Linked DNA regions of Homo sapiens: regions 2 and 3 are each linked to region 1. The links are contacts of gene promoters, found by promoter capture Hi-C in blood cells and fetal thymus (Javierre and others, 2016). All regions are on one chromosome and are shown on one strand. The core of a region is centred on a gene start or on the middle of the fragment in contact, and the rest is flanking DNA. Distances in the headings are between cores, read along the strand shown.

Evidence for each region. The method cuts DNA at HindIII sites, captures the fragments that hold promoters and counts their contacts. A CHiCAGO score of 5 or more calls a contact.
Region 2: a contact is called between a fragment that was not itself captured here and the fragment with the promoter of FDXR in region 1, in 1 of 17 cell types (naive B cells). The highest score is 5.6, in naive B cells.
Region 3: a fragment that was not itself captured here is called in contact with the fragment with the promoter of FDXR in region 1 in 1 of 17 cell types (naive CD4 T cells); the score reaches 6.3 in naive CD4 T cells.

What each region holds. Positions count from the first base shown.
Region 1 is chr17:74,870,756-74,875,316 of GRCh38, reverse strand. It overlaps FDXR (ferredoxin reductase), which reads left to right and starts at 2,323. Exons shown (of 12, transcript NM_024417.5): 1 at 2,323-2,451; 2 at 3,184-3,281. The coding sequence starts at 2,373. It also overlaps a transcript of FADS6 not described here. RefSeq lists enhancers at 273-1,173, 1,794-2,023, 1,979-2,273, 2,071-2,971 and silencers at 2,184-2,413, 2,454-2,583. The HindIII fragment of the contact is 12,318 bases long and covers 1-3,088 here.
Region 2 is chr17:74,643,836-74,648,396 of GRCh38, reverse strand. No RefSeq gene overlaps it. Among named protein-coding and RNA genes, the nearest start is that of CD300E, 22 kb to the right of the region's middle. The HindIII fragment of the contact is 2,253 bases long and covers 671-2,923 here.
Region 3 is chr17:74,670,056-74,674,616 of GRCh38, reverse strand. It overlaps RAB37-AS1 (RAB37 antisense RNA 1), which reads left to right. Exons shown (of 2, transcript XR_007065904.1): 2 at 1-4,557. It also overlaps a transcript of RAB37 not described here. Among named protein-coding and RNA genes, the nearest start is that of RAB37-AS1, 5.3 kb to the left of the region's middle. The HindIII fragment of the contact is 251 bases long and covers 2,494-2,744 here.

The DNA.
Region 1 (4,561 bases), core at 1,074-3,573:
TAATGTTTATCTAGCATTTATGGAAGTTGTCTTGACCTCATCATCTGATTTTAATGTCTACAACAAATTGCCACTATTCATATTTCCCCCAAATGTTACAGACAGTGAAAAAAAGTCCTGGAGAGATTAAATTTCTCAATGTCATATAGCTAGTAAGTGGAGGAAGAGGGATTCAGACCCAATGTTGTCTGACTCTAGAATCCATCCTCCACCACCAGATATACTGCCTCTAGATGGGGAGCCCTACAGAACTTTTTCGATTGTACGAACTTCCATTATGTGCTAGCCAGTGTGTGAAGCCCTGGGGGTATAAGAGCTGAGACTGGGTCCCCATCCTCATGGAGCTTATAATGTAGTGCAGGGGTGGTCAAACTCTGTAAAGGACCAGATAGTAAATATCTGGGGCTTTGCGAACCATATGATCTCTGTTACAACTACTCAATTGTGCCATCAAAGCACAAATATAGCCATAGACAATATGTAAAGAAGTAAGCATGGATGTCTTCCAATAAAGTTTTATTCAAACTGAAGTCTGAATTTCATGTAATTTTTACGTGTCACAAAATGTTGTTTTTTACCATTAAAAATATAAAAACAAGCTGGGTGTGGTGGCTCACTCCTGTAATCCTGGCACTTTGGAAGGCCGAGGTGGGAGGATCGCTTTGAGTTCAGGAGTTCGAGACCAGCCTGGGTGACATGGCAAAACCCCATCTCCACAAAAAATGCAAAAATGAACCAGGCGTGGTGGCAGGCACCTGTGGTCCCAGCTACTCCGGAGGCTGAGGCCTGAGGCTCGCTTGAGCCAAGCCAGGAAGCAGAGGTTGCAGTGAGCACCACTGCACTCCAGCCTGGGTGACAGAGCAGGACCCTGTCTCAAAAAACAAAATCAAAACCAAAAACAAAAACCCCAAAACCTCCAAAAAAACAAAAACAGTAAAAGCCATTCTTGTTGGTCATCCAAAACATGCTGGTGGACAGTATTTGGCCTGCAAGCTATAGTTTGCCTACTCCTGGTCTAGTGGGACAGGCATAAAACACAGTGACCTATTAGAAAGCAGACAGCATTTACTTACCAGTGGGAGGGAGGGGAAGTGACCAGTAAGGGCACAGAGGACTCCTGGGATACTGGCCATGTTTTATTTCTTGATCTGGGTGGTGGTTATATGGTTACACCTTGTGATATATTGTCAAGTTGTACACTCATGATTTGTGCACTTTTCTGTATGTTATTATTGAATTTAAAATCTCATTAAAAACGACAACCAGTGTAGTAAGTCATGATGGGATAAGGTCAGATGCTGTGGAATGAGAGGCCTTTAACTCCTTGGAACTTGGGAGGGGACGGGTCAGAGAAAAGGCTTCTCCAAGGAAGTAATATTTGACAAGAGGGCCCATGGGGAAAAGGAAGAGGGGTTAGGCTTATTGGGTCAGCTGTGACTACGGATCCTGTCCTTATTTTTAAAAACATTTTGATCATAGACTTTTTGCATTACTTTTGACCTTTTAAAACGTTGCAGTATTATATTTATCTTGATTACTGAGTGTTTTGGAGCCCCCTTAAATTCTGAACCCGAGGGGAGTACCTCAACTCTGGTCCCGGCTCGGCTGCACGGGGGTCGGACGCTCTGTCCTTAGTACCATACGTAAGCCACTGCCCCGCCCCGCTTTTCTTCACCTATGTAATGGGAAAGGAGGTGAGGTGGGACGAGCTTTCCAGGGTTTAATATTCTCCCTGGCCCGGCAAAGACGGGGATTTGAGGGGTTACATCGGCACAACACCCGGGGTCGAAGAAGGAGGCTGCTGGGCTCCGGGAAGGAGCTCCCTCGCCCCAGACTTCCGCACTCTGGTTATTTCCCAACGGCGGGAAGGCTCGCTTGGAGCCGGACTCGTGATTGGCTAGGACGAAGTCACGTGGGAGGATTCGCAATCAAATGGCAAGGGCGTCTGCGTCATCAGTGAGCGACGAGAGCCTCCCGAGAGGGGCGCGGCTAAGTAAAATAAGCTCCTTTCTTAGTGGCTGTTTCCTTGGGGAGGGACTGAAACAGCGATGGGGATTCGCTCTCTTCCAACCCTAGGCTTCCGGGATTTGGAGGGAAGGTGAGGCCTGGGGAGAAATGTATTAAATCGCGTATACCCCGGATGCTCCGAGGGGCGGGGCTTCGACGGTGGGGCGTAGTTAAGGGCGGGTCTCTCTTTTGGGGGCGGGATTCTCTCGGGAGTCGGGGTGGAGCCGCAAGGCTCCGCTTTCCCGGAGCGCAGGGGGCGGGGTTTGGGGCGGGGCCTCGCTTGTGGGCGGGCCCGGGCAGGAGCGGGCTTGCCCTGCGGAGCAGTAGCTAGGAACAGATCCACTTGCAGGTTGCTGCTCCCAGCCATGGCTTCGCGCTGCTGGCGCTGGTGGGGCTGGTCGGCGTGGCCTCGGACCCGGCTGCCTCCCGCCGGGAGCACCCCGAGTAGGAGCAGGGCGCCTTTGGGGCTGGATGGGAGCGCGGGGAGGCCTGCGAGCGCTGAGTAGGGGTCGGAGCAGAGCTGGGGCAGGGCTGGAGAAGGGTGAGACTGAAGGGGTGTCTTCCTGCTGGCGAGATCCCGGTGGTGTACGGGGGTGGGCGGAGATCTGTGCGTGAGATGTGAGGCTTCTAGGGTTAGAGACGGAGGTCAACAAAGGTGAAAAGGAGAGACTTTGAGATCTACAGGTGTGAGACGGGGTGAATGGAGGATGATACGGAGGTCTGTGGGGCGAGAGGAAAGTCTGAGTCGAAACAGGGATCTGTAGGAATAAGACGGGTCTATATGGGCAATATAGCGTTTTGTGGAGAGAGAGAGGGGTTAGAGGAGGGACACCGTGGGGAGACCCACGGGGGCGAGATTGGGATGATATGGAGGCCGTTGGAAGGATGTGGGATTCTAGCCGATTGGATAGGGAATGAAGTGTTGTTGGGCAGGCCATTGGCAGTGGTGTAGTAGGTTCATGGGTGAGATGTGGGCTCTGGATGAACCCACAGCCTTTGGGGGTTCAGATGAAGTAAGAGACCCTGCAAATGCCAAAGCCTTGAGGAACAAGAGAAGGAGGATGCAGGTGAGGGTGAAGCTTGGGAAGTTCCAGCTTCTGTTGGATATTCAGGTTGGTTTGGGACTGGGGAGAGAAGTTAATTTTGACCTTTTCCCTCTCCTCTGCCTGGCCCCAGGCTTCTGCCACCATTTCTCCACACAGGAGAAGACCCCCCAGATCTGTGTGGTGGGCAGTGGCCCAGCTGGCTTCTACACGGCCCAACACCTGCTAAAGGTAAGCCACTTACTCATAGTCCATCATTCACCTGCTGCTCCAGTCCTAAGGGCAAGCCTCACCCGCTTTGGGTTTTAAGAGCACTCCTGGTTGCCTTATGGGGAAGGGGCTCCCAGCCATCTGGCCTGGACACTTCCCACTTGCTTCCTCACCTACACCTGAGGCTCCCCTCCCCTCCCGTCCTCAGTGTGACAGGGGTGTAAAACGCACATTGGTGGTGAGTGGTCAGTGGCAGGTGGTCAGCTTTGCCTCCCTGGCCAAGCACTCCAGGGGGCTTATGTAGACCTGCAAAATGACTTTGTCCTCCTTCATCTTCCCTCCTCTCTCGTCTATCTTCACTCTATCCCAAACATCCTACATCTCGAGGCTACCCACCTCCTCCGCTTTCTGTAACTTTACCTGCCTTGCCATGCCCTCCTCACCCATAGCTCCAGTCCTCCGTGCCATTCTGTTCTTTCAGCCTGCCCTCTGCCCCTCCCCCTTCCCCTGTGAAGGCCAGGATCTCAAGGCTTTCAGTGTCTGCCTCGGCAGGAAGGGCCCCAAGCCAAGGCTACAGGTTCTACTTGAGACTCCACATCAGACTTTGGGACAGAGTAGAGAGGGGATACCCAGGTTAACTGAGACGTGAGACAGTTGCCTAGCTTTGGAGAGGCTTGGAGTGTCCGTGGAGAGACAAGAGAAAGGATGAATATCTTAATTATACACACACACACAGATGCTTGAAATGTAGGGTGACCAACTGGCCTGGACTGCCCAGGACAAGGGGCTTCAGCGCTAAGCTGGAAGTTCTTGGGAAACTGGGATGAGTTGATCACTCTGCTGAAAAGTGACCCGTGCATGCTTCCCAGGCAACACGGGTGAAAGAGCTAATTACAATAATGTGGGCAGCGTGAGCCGAGGCAGGTGGGGTCAATCAGAAACTGTTTCCTGGGCCGGAAGCCCAGGTGGCTCATGTCTGTAATCCCAGCACTTTGGGAGGCCAAGGCAGGTGGATCACTTGAAGTCAGGAGTTTGAGACCAGCCTGGCCAACGTGGTGAAACCCCATCTCTACTAAAAATAGAAAAATCAGCCACGTGTGGTGGCACAGGTCTGTAGTCCCAGGTACTTGGGAGGCTGAGTCGGGAGGATCGCTTGAACCCAGGAGGTGGAGGTAGCACTGAGCCAAGATCAAATCACTGTACTCCAGCCTGGGCGACAGAGTGAGACCCTGTCTCAAAAAAAAAAAAAAAAAAAAAAAGAGAGACAGTGCATTTGAGCTGCCTTGAAGCAGACCAAGGGC
Region 2 (4,561 bases), core at 548-3,047, 230 kb after region 1:
ACATTTTTCCATCCCTGGGAAATGCAACGTGCCAGGCACTATCACCCACTGGATGCTAGGTTTCAGCTTCAGGCGAGGCAGTGAGAACCCTCCTCAGCTGCTACCCTCCCCTGCCCTCCCCTCTCCCTCCTTCCCCATGGGATCTGTAGGGCCCGCAGCTCTGCATTGGCTTTGCTCAGACACACCAGCCTCAGGGTGCAGCTGCTATGCACTGGGGGACTGCACTGCCTCTCCTGTCACTGTGAGTCCTGGCATCTTAGTTCTCAAACATGCAGTTGAGTCAAGAAGAATGATGGCCATTCCTTCATCTCCTGACTTTTAGGATCTGGGCTAAGCTAGGACACAAACCAGGCTCAGAAATGAGGCTTTGGCTCCTGGCACCCACAGCTCTGGATTTGCAGGACAGATAAGACACGGAGCCTGCCCCGGAGCTCTTTCAGCCAGCTTCCCCACAGACAGCAGTTGGAGCTGCTGGGCCAGGCTTTGCTGGGTCCATTTAGCTTGGGGCATCTGAGAGGGGACGGTGGTGTCCTTTATCTCCAGGACTCCCACAGAGCCAGTGGACTCTGCAGCTGGGCTCTGGGTGCCTTGTGGCCGTCCTTGGGAGGTTGCCACTTGACCAAGGGAAGGAGATGGAGAGACAGCCTGAGATTTGGGGTGTGTAGAAGCTTCTCCCTCTGATTGCCCTGAATTTAGGTGAGATTTCAGTGGCATTGGAAATCTAAACTTAGGTTTGGAAAGGAGTTTCAGGCCAGGTGCGGTGGCTCATGCCTGTAACCCCAGCACTTTGGGAGGCCAAGGCAGGCTGATCACCTGAGGTCAGGAATTCGAGATCAGCTTGGCCAACATGGCAAAACTCCATCTCTACTAAACACACACACACACACACACACACACACACACACACATCAACTGGGCATGGTTGTGGGCACCTGTAATCCCAGCTACTTGGGAGGCTGAGGCAGGAGAATCGCTTGAACCTGGGAGGTGAAGATCGCAGTGAGCTGAGATTGCACCACTGCACTCCAGCCTGGGCGACAGAGTGAGACTCCGTCTCTGAAAAATAGAAAAGACTGGAGTTTCAGAGTGTGGTGGCCCTCCTGGGAGGACCCAGGGATGTGTGATTGTGCCATACAGTTTATGCATCTGGATAATAATAATAATACCTACTTTGTTTGACTTGCACGGGATTTAAGCAAAGTAATAACAGAAAGCATCTAAAGTGGTCTCTGAAACAAAGTAAACTCAGTAATTCTTAGCAATTATTATGTCTCTGGCCATGGCTGGCAGACCCTGGACCTGAACCTGGGTAGCAAATGTCACACTGCCCTGCTCTTGTTCTTTTTCTTTTTCTTTTGTGACAGAGTCTCTCTCTGTTGCTCAGGCTGGAGTGCAGTGGTGTGATCTTGGCTCACTGCAACTGCCACCTCACAGGTTCACGCGATTCTCCTGCCTCAGTCTCCTGAGTAGCTGGGACTACAGGTGCCTGCCACCATGCCCAGCTAATTTTTGTATTTTTAGTAGAGACAGGGTTTCACATATTGGCCAGGCTGGTCTCAAACTCCCGACCTTGTGATCCACCCACCTCGGCCTCCCAAAGTGCTGGGATTACAGGGGTGAGCCACTGCACCTGGCCCCTGCACTTCTTTAATATTGTGCCTGGAAGGTGCTGGGCATGGAGTGGATGTTGCATGACTGCTTCTTGCAGAGCCTCAAGAGAGCAGGGAAGGCTGGGCTTCCCAAGTAGACTTAAAGGATTGTGTGTTTGTGCTTTTGTTTTTGGGGTATTTGTTCATTCATTCATTCATTCATTCAAGAAAACTATATAGAGCATATATTGTGGGCACTGGATGTTGGAAATGCAATGGTGAGCAAAGAAGACCCATTTCTTGCCTTCTTGAGGCTTATAGCCCAGTAGGGGGAGACAGACATTAATCAAATGTGCACCAATAAATGTCCCATTACAACCACCATAGAAGAAGGAGGTGCTCTGGGAACTTCCATTAGGGGCATTGATTCAACTGGGCTCCAGCGATGTCTCACCCCATCCACTTCCCCCACATGGCCTAGCCCACCGTTGTCTCACACCTGGAAGGCTACAATTGCTTATTCATGTCTCCCAGTTTCCTGCCTTACCTCTGTCAATTGTTTTTTCCTCGCAGCAGCCCGTGTGATCCTTTTAAAGTAAGCCAGGTCACGTAATTCTCCAATGGCTCCCTGCATCATTCAGAGTCAAATCCAACTCCCTATTAAGGCCTATGGGCCCTTAAATGATGACTCTGTTTCCTTTCTGATCTCGTCTCATTCCACTCTTGCCCTCATTCCCTCTTCCTGAGCCATGGTGGCCTCTGCTCCCACCCCAGGACTTTTGCACAGCAGCCCCCTCTACCTTGCACTCTTTTTTTTTTTTGAGATGGTGTCTCCTGTCACCCAGGCTGGAGTGCAGTGGCGCGATCTCGGCTCACTGCAGGCTCCGCCCCCTGGGGTTCACACCATTCTCTTGCCTCAGCCTCCCGAGTAGGTGGGACTACAGACGCCTGCCACCTTGCCCAGCTAATTTTTTGTATTTTTAGTAGAGACGGGGTTTCACCGTGTTAGCCAGGATGGTCTCGATCTCCTGACCTCGTGATCCGCCCACCTTGGCCTCCCAAAATGCTGGGATTACAGGCGTGAGCCACCGCACCCGGCCTACCTTGCACTCTTCACCTGCAGCTGTCAGTGTGGCTCCCACCCTTCTTTCAGGTCTCTGTTAAAATAAGATAACACTTTATCATAGATACCTTCTCTATAGATATTAATACAATAGCATTTGCCTCCCCTCACTCCCTCTACCCTTTTTGTCTTCGGGGCACTTATGACCACCTGGTACATTTTATATGTGTTTATTTTCTCCTCTCCCCCTCCCCCTAGGAGAATGTAAGCTTCCTGAGGACAGAAGCTTGATTTGTTTGTTGCTGCATTCCAGCACCTAGCACGGTATTTGGCATGTAGTAGGTGTCCAGTAAATATTTGTTGAGTTGAATGAATGATAATTTATTTGAGATTTGGAGGAAGAGTATGAGTTAACCAAGCAAAGAGAGGAAAGGAGCATTTTAGGCCCAGGAAACAGTGTGTGAACAGTCACTGTAATCAAGGGAATGTGTTCTGTCTGAGGAACCAAAATCTTTGTGGTTGCCCCTTGGGGATTAAGTGGGAGGTTATTATGGCTTGAGGCTTGGGAGGTCAGCAGGGGCCAAACTGAGGTCCAGTAGAGGAGTTGTAAGAGCCCTGGGAGGCTGTTAATGTTTCTTACAGGGGGAGTGGCAAGATCAGATTTGTTTGCAAAAATACCATTCTGGCTGCACAGTGGCGAAAAACTAAGAGTGAACGTGGGCAGACCACCTGGGAGGCTATTGACAGACGATGGTAGCTTGGGCTAGGTTGGCAGAGAAGGAGATAGAGAGATGGACAAATCTGAGAGCTTTAACAGGAGGCAACATTGAATGGGCTCCAGGCAGGACAGAGTGTGGGGATGAAGACACAGAGGGGTCAGGGATGAAAACTAGGAAACAGTGTAAGGTGATGGGACTCCTTTCTGGAGGGCATAATTGTGAGTTTACTTTGGACTTGTTGAGTTGGATGCATCTTTGAGACGGCTCAAGTGCAGATATCAAGGAGAGGGATGGCAAGGAGGTCTGAGGTTAGAAGAATGTTTGGACTGGAGATTGAGTTTTCCAGGAATCTGCTCAAAATGGTTTTTAGACCCAGGCTCTGACTGACTTTGAGGATAGTTATCTTGGGATCTGTAGCTTTATGTCTTGCTGAAACTGGGAAAATTTTAGCCGTTATGTTTTCAAATACCTTTTTGCAACTCTGCTTTCTTTCTTTTCTTCTTCTGGAACTTCAATGACATGAATGTTTGCTCTTTTATTACAGTCCCACAGCTACCTAAGGCTCTGTTCATCTTTTAAAGTCTATTTTCTCTCTTTTGCTCAGATCAGACAATTTCTATTGTTCTGTGTTCAAGTTCACCGATTCTTTCCTCTGTCCTCTCCCTCCTGATGTTGAGCCCATTAGCTGAATTTAAAAAATTTAGTTATCATATTTTTCATTTGTAAAATGTCCACTTGCTACTTCTTTGTGTCTATTTCCTTGCTGAGATTTTCTATCTTTTCATATATTTCAAGCATGTTGAGGAGATTGCCATAGCATTGTGTTTGAACACTTGCTTGTCAAGTAGTTGCTGCTTATCATCTCAGTTTCTTTCTTAAAAGAAAAAAAAAAGCAGTAGAATAAACAATGATTGCAGGTGTGAATGGAGACCACCATAAGAAGAGATAGGGAGGCACCAAAGCAGAAGGCAGAGCATGCAGCACTTGCTCTCTGTAGCATGGTCAGCCCAGAGTCTAGGAGGACTGGGCTGTATAGAGGGGAGAGCAGAGCTCAGTAGGCAGAACCATGAAGCTGCTTTTCACCACCTTCCTTCTCTCTCTTCTAGTTGCCTGGGGCAGAAGTGTTGATGGAGAAGTGGGTTAACATAGTAAGTATGTGGGGGACAGTTGAAATGGCAAAGACTTTCTGC
Region 3 (4,561 bases), core at 1,370-3,869, 200 kb after region 1:
AGTCTCCACCTCCTCGGTTCAAGTGATTCTCCTGTCTCAGCCTCCCTAGTAGCTGAGATTATAGGAGTGTGTTACCACGCCTAGCTGATTTTTGTATTTTTAGTAGAGACAAAGTTTCGCCATGTTGGCCAGGCTGGTCTTGAACTCCTGACCTCAAGAGATCTGCCCGCCTCAGCTTCCCAAAGTGGTGTTTGTTATGTGTCAATAACAAGTCTATTTAAAAAATCATTTCCCCACGCTGGGCATGGTGGCTCATACATATAATGCCAGCACTTTGGGAGGCCGAGCGGGTGGATCTCTTGAGGCCAGGAGTTCAAGACCAGCCTGGCCAACATGGTGAAACTCTGTCTCTACAAAACAACAACTGCCAAAAAATTAGCCAGGCATGGTGGCACATGCCTGCAGTTCCAGTTACTGGGGAGGCTGAGGTGGGAGAATCACTTGCCTGGGAGGCAGAGGTTGCAGTGAGCTGAGATCACACCACTGCATTCCAGCCTGGGTGACAGACTGAGACCCCACTTCAAAAAAAGAATTTATCCTAGCAATTAATGTTGGAGGGGAGCCCTGCTTCTCATGGACAATAGACACTAATCAATCAATGGGAACTCCTTGGACTCTACTACATAGTAATTTTTAATATAATACAAATAAGTTGATGCCCTACCCCTTTACAAAAAGAGTTTTAAGTGGATCACAATAAAACATCATGCACAATCATAAAGTAGTATTAGGAGGAGGTTGTCAGCACTATATAAGAAGGAAAACTTTCCTTACATACATATGTCACTCTGCTGGGCACCACAGAAGGTTTAAGGCTGGCTCCTGCTCTCAGGGTGCTCACACAGCCAAGCTGATGACATTGAGCCTTTACTAGTAGTAAATAGATACTTGCCTTTAAATATGTTGGAACTTGTTGGAATGGGTTCCCACTCTCAATTTGGTGATCAATAAACTCAAAGGAAGTAACAGTCTTCATGGACTACATCCTACATCTCGTGTGTGGGTAATTGAAATGGAAAATACCACATCTGATCAATATTTTGAACAATCTGAGCTCCCAATCTTAAAGCTTTCAAAATGAGTATTTATACCTTTATAGGATGGTATAAACTTGGAGAGACCCACATATCTAGTTGCCAGGAAAATTTTGTAATTGATTTGTAATTATGTTCCTCTGCTTGCATAAACTTTTTTTTTCTTTTTTTTTTTGAGACAAGGTCTTGCTTTGTTGCCCAGGCTAGAGTGGAGTGCAGTGGTGTGATTTCGGTTCACTGCAGTCTCTGCCTCCCAGGCTCAAGCAATTCTCCTGCCTCAGCCTCCTGAGTAGCTGGGATCACAGGCGCACACCACCATGCCCAGCGAATTTTTGTATTTTTAGTAGAGACAGATTTTACCATGTTGGCCAGGCTGGTCTTGAACCCTTGACCTCAAGCGGTCCACCGCCTCGGCCTCCCAAAGTGCTGAGATTACAGGTGTGAGCCACCATGCCTGGCCTTGCATGCAGTTTTTACTGGGCTAAATTGACAACATCAAATAGCACAGAATTTCTTCTAGTTTACTTCAAACTGTGATGGCTTTAAAATTTCTAGACTGGGATAGTTGTTATACATTTTTTCTCCTTCTCTATATCCTAGGAATTCAGAGACCTGGAGGGAGAAGACACATGGACTGTCAGATCTAGAGACCTGCTTCCTTCAATAGCTGATTTTCTTTCATTTGTGTCAGAAACAGGCAGCATGGCACAGAGCCATGCACCTAAAACTTTATTGTGCATATTTATTCCTAGAGATCTTGTTAAAATGCAGATTCAGATTCAGCCAATCTAGGGTCAGGGCTTTCTATTGTAATAAGTTCCAAGGTAATGCCAATGCTGCTGGTCCATGGACTGCACACTTTGATGAGAAGTTTAGTAAGGATATAGAGGAAAGAATACTACACGTGTAGTAGTAATTTCTGGCTTTTAGTATCAGCTCTGCCATTTACCAGCTTGCTTTCTTGGACAAGTCATTTTTCCTCTCTGGATTTTAGTTTCCTCAAATATAAGCTGGGTGATAGAGGAGGAGGTTGGGTTAGGTTATTTCAAAGCTTGCATTCATAGACTCTTCAAAGTGATGTTTTGATTAAAAAACTCCACCTATAGGATCACGTACAGCTTTTCAAAGGACTAGCAGGTGAACTGGCATTATCAAAGCAGAAAATATAGGGGCTGGAGCAGGAAGGCATGGCAAAGTCAGAGAAAAGGAAGGTGAGCCATAATAACTTCTTATGGCAAATATAACACTTTGATTATTTCAGAGTGATGGATTTTGAATTAAAACTGTTATCCTGAGAGAGGCTACTATTTTTCCCAACAACTATCTTAGGGGGAGACCTGCATTACTGAAAACTGAGTTGCATAAGAAACTTGAGTGAAGGAAGCAATGGATATGTTAGTGCTTTGAAATAAGCAAATGCTTACAGGGGCTGTGAGGGAATCATGGCTGGAGGGAAGCTTTCTGGAGCCATGAGGGAGTCTGATTTGAAAACAGCAGTTCATCTCTGCTGCAGACCATTTATCTAATTTCAGACAAATTGGCCAGAAATTCAGGTATTTGGCCACTGCTAGCAGATGTAACAGGGAGAAATGCAGTCTCCTACAAGGGTTAGGAGAGCAAGGTGCCAGGGGTCACCCAGGGGCATAAATAGGCAAGGAGAAGGAGGGGGTGAAAAAGGAACACAGATGATGTAAGTGAATGAATGAAGCTTCTGACCATCTGAGCCTCTGGCGGCAGCCCTTCCCCAAGAGCTCACGCATCTCTGTTTTGAGCAGGAAACAGGATCAGACAGAAAGGGCTCCCCAGACTCACAGATACAAGCTAGTTTCTCATTAAGTCCCAAAGCAAAGTCAGGGGAGTGGAGAAAACTCCTGGTGCTGGCGCCTCTTCCAACGTTAGGTTGAGGAATACAGGAGATGTTTACCTTATGCAGGACGTGGTCGTTGAAGTCAGGGCCAGCTCCTCCCTGGTAGGAATCGGGTCTCTGCAGGTCCATGCCAGGCTTGGAGCTCGCCGCTCCGGCTCTCCCTGCGCTCTGCGTCAGCGCTTCCAGGAGCTCGGTTCGAGCTCCGCTGGGTGCGGCAGGCTTGGGTCTGAGCTCTGCGGGCCGGGCCGCATCCGTTTTCAGCACTGGACAGTTCCCCGCAGCGGCCGCGGCGCGGTACCAGGCGGGCAGGCGGCCACGTTCTTCCAGGACTGAGCGTTTCAGCACCAGGAACAGCGACTCCGCCGTTGTGCGCCCGGGACCAGAGTTCTGAGATCCTGTCCGCTCCAATCCCTGCCTCTTAGGACTCCAGGATGCTGGCAGGGACGCAAGATTTGGGTCCGGCTGGTGATCCCTGCGTATTTCATTCAGCTACCGGACTCCGGAGGCTCAGCACCCGGCTGCGTTCTCAGGGCATTGCGGTCCCAGGAGCTCACCGTTCCTGATCCCGAGCGAACGGGCATCTCCGTCACCACGCAGCTCAGCGCAGCGCAGCTCTCCTCACACGTTTGCAGAGGCGAAGTCCTGCGGCGCTGGCGGCGCTTCTGTTTTTGTCCCTGGACAATTCTCTCCAGGATGTATGAGATAAATAGAGCTTCTAAGTCTGAGGTCGACAGTAGATGGGTCTTAGGTGTCCCCAAAGTCCCTGAAATATGCAAAATTCTGTTTACCTGCGTTTTCCTAGGGAGAAGGTCCAGGGCTTTGATCACATTCTCTCCAGCACACATGACCGCAAGAAGTTAAGGACAATGGGCTCAGGAGAGGCAGATGGTGGTTTGGTTAGGAGCACAGGCTCCAGGATTCAAATCTCGATTCTGAAAATTATTAGTCGTGCAAACTCGGGCAAATTAATCTTTCCTAAGTGTCCACAAAATGGAGATAATATTATAATAGTACCTGCCTCATGGTTTTGTTCTGAGTATTTAATGAGTTAATTCATGTAAAAAGCCTAGAACAGTGCCCAGCGTGTACTAAGAACTCAATAAATGTGAGCTACTATGCTCTCCTGGCAGGGGATGAAGAGCTCTGGCTACTTCTCCTATACGTCAGGGGAGTCCTGCTGCTGCGACCTTTGATTGGCAAAATTGCATCATCACATGGAATATGAGAGCGTGAGGCTGACCACCATGGGAACTGGAGGCTGAGACTGTGGCCCCTGGGATTATTATCAGATTACTAAGGACAAGTCCTAGTACCAGCCACGGGCCCTTGGAGTCAATATCAACATGGAAGGAAAGAGCCAGGCTTAGGGTTAAAAGAGTGCGTTTTACTGCTGGGTTTCACTCCTTTTTGGCTGAGTTGTGTGAACCAGATCACTCGTGTTCCCTGGGATTACTTATGTTTTCTCATCTGCAAAATAGGTAGAGTAATCTATGCCCACTTTATTGGGTTTGGGGGAAGAGTGAGACAATGTACATGAAAAGTCTTTATTTTCTTTTAAATTGTAAAGTAAATTTCATTTATAAGGTGTTATTATTGCTGGAATCACTATACTGTAGATACTCAATGAACATTGATTAAATGAACAAAGCTAGGGAACCAA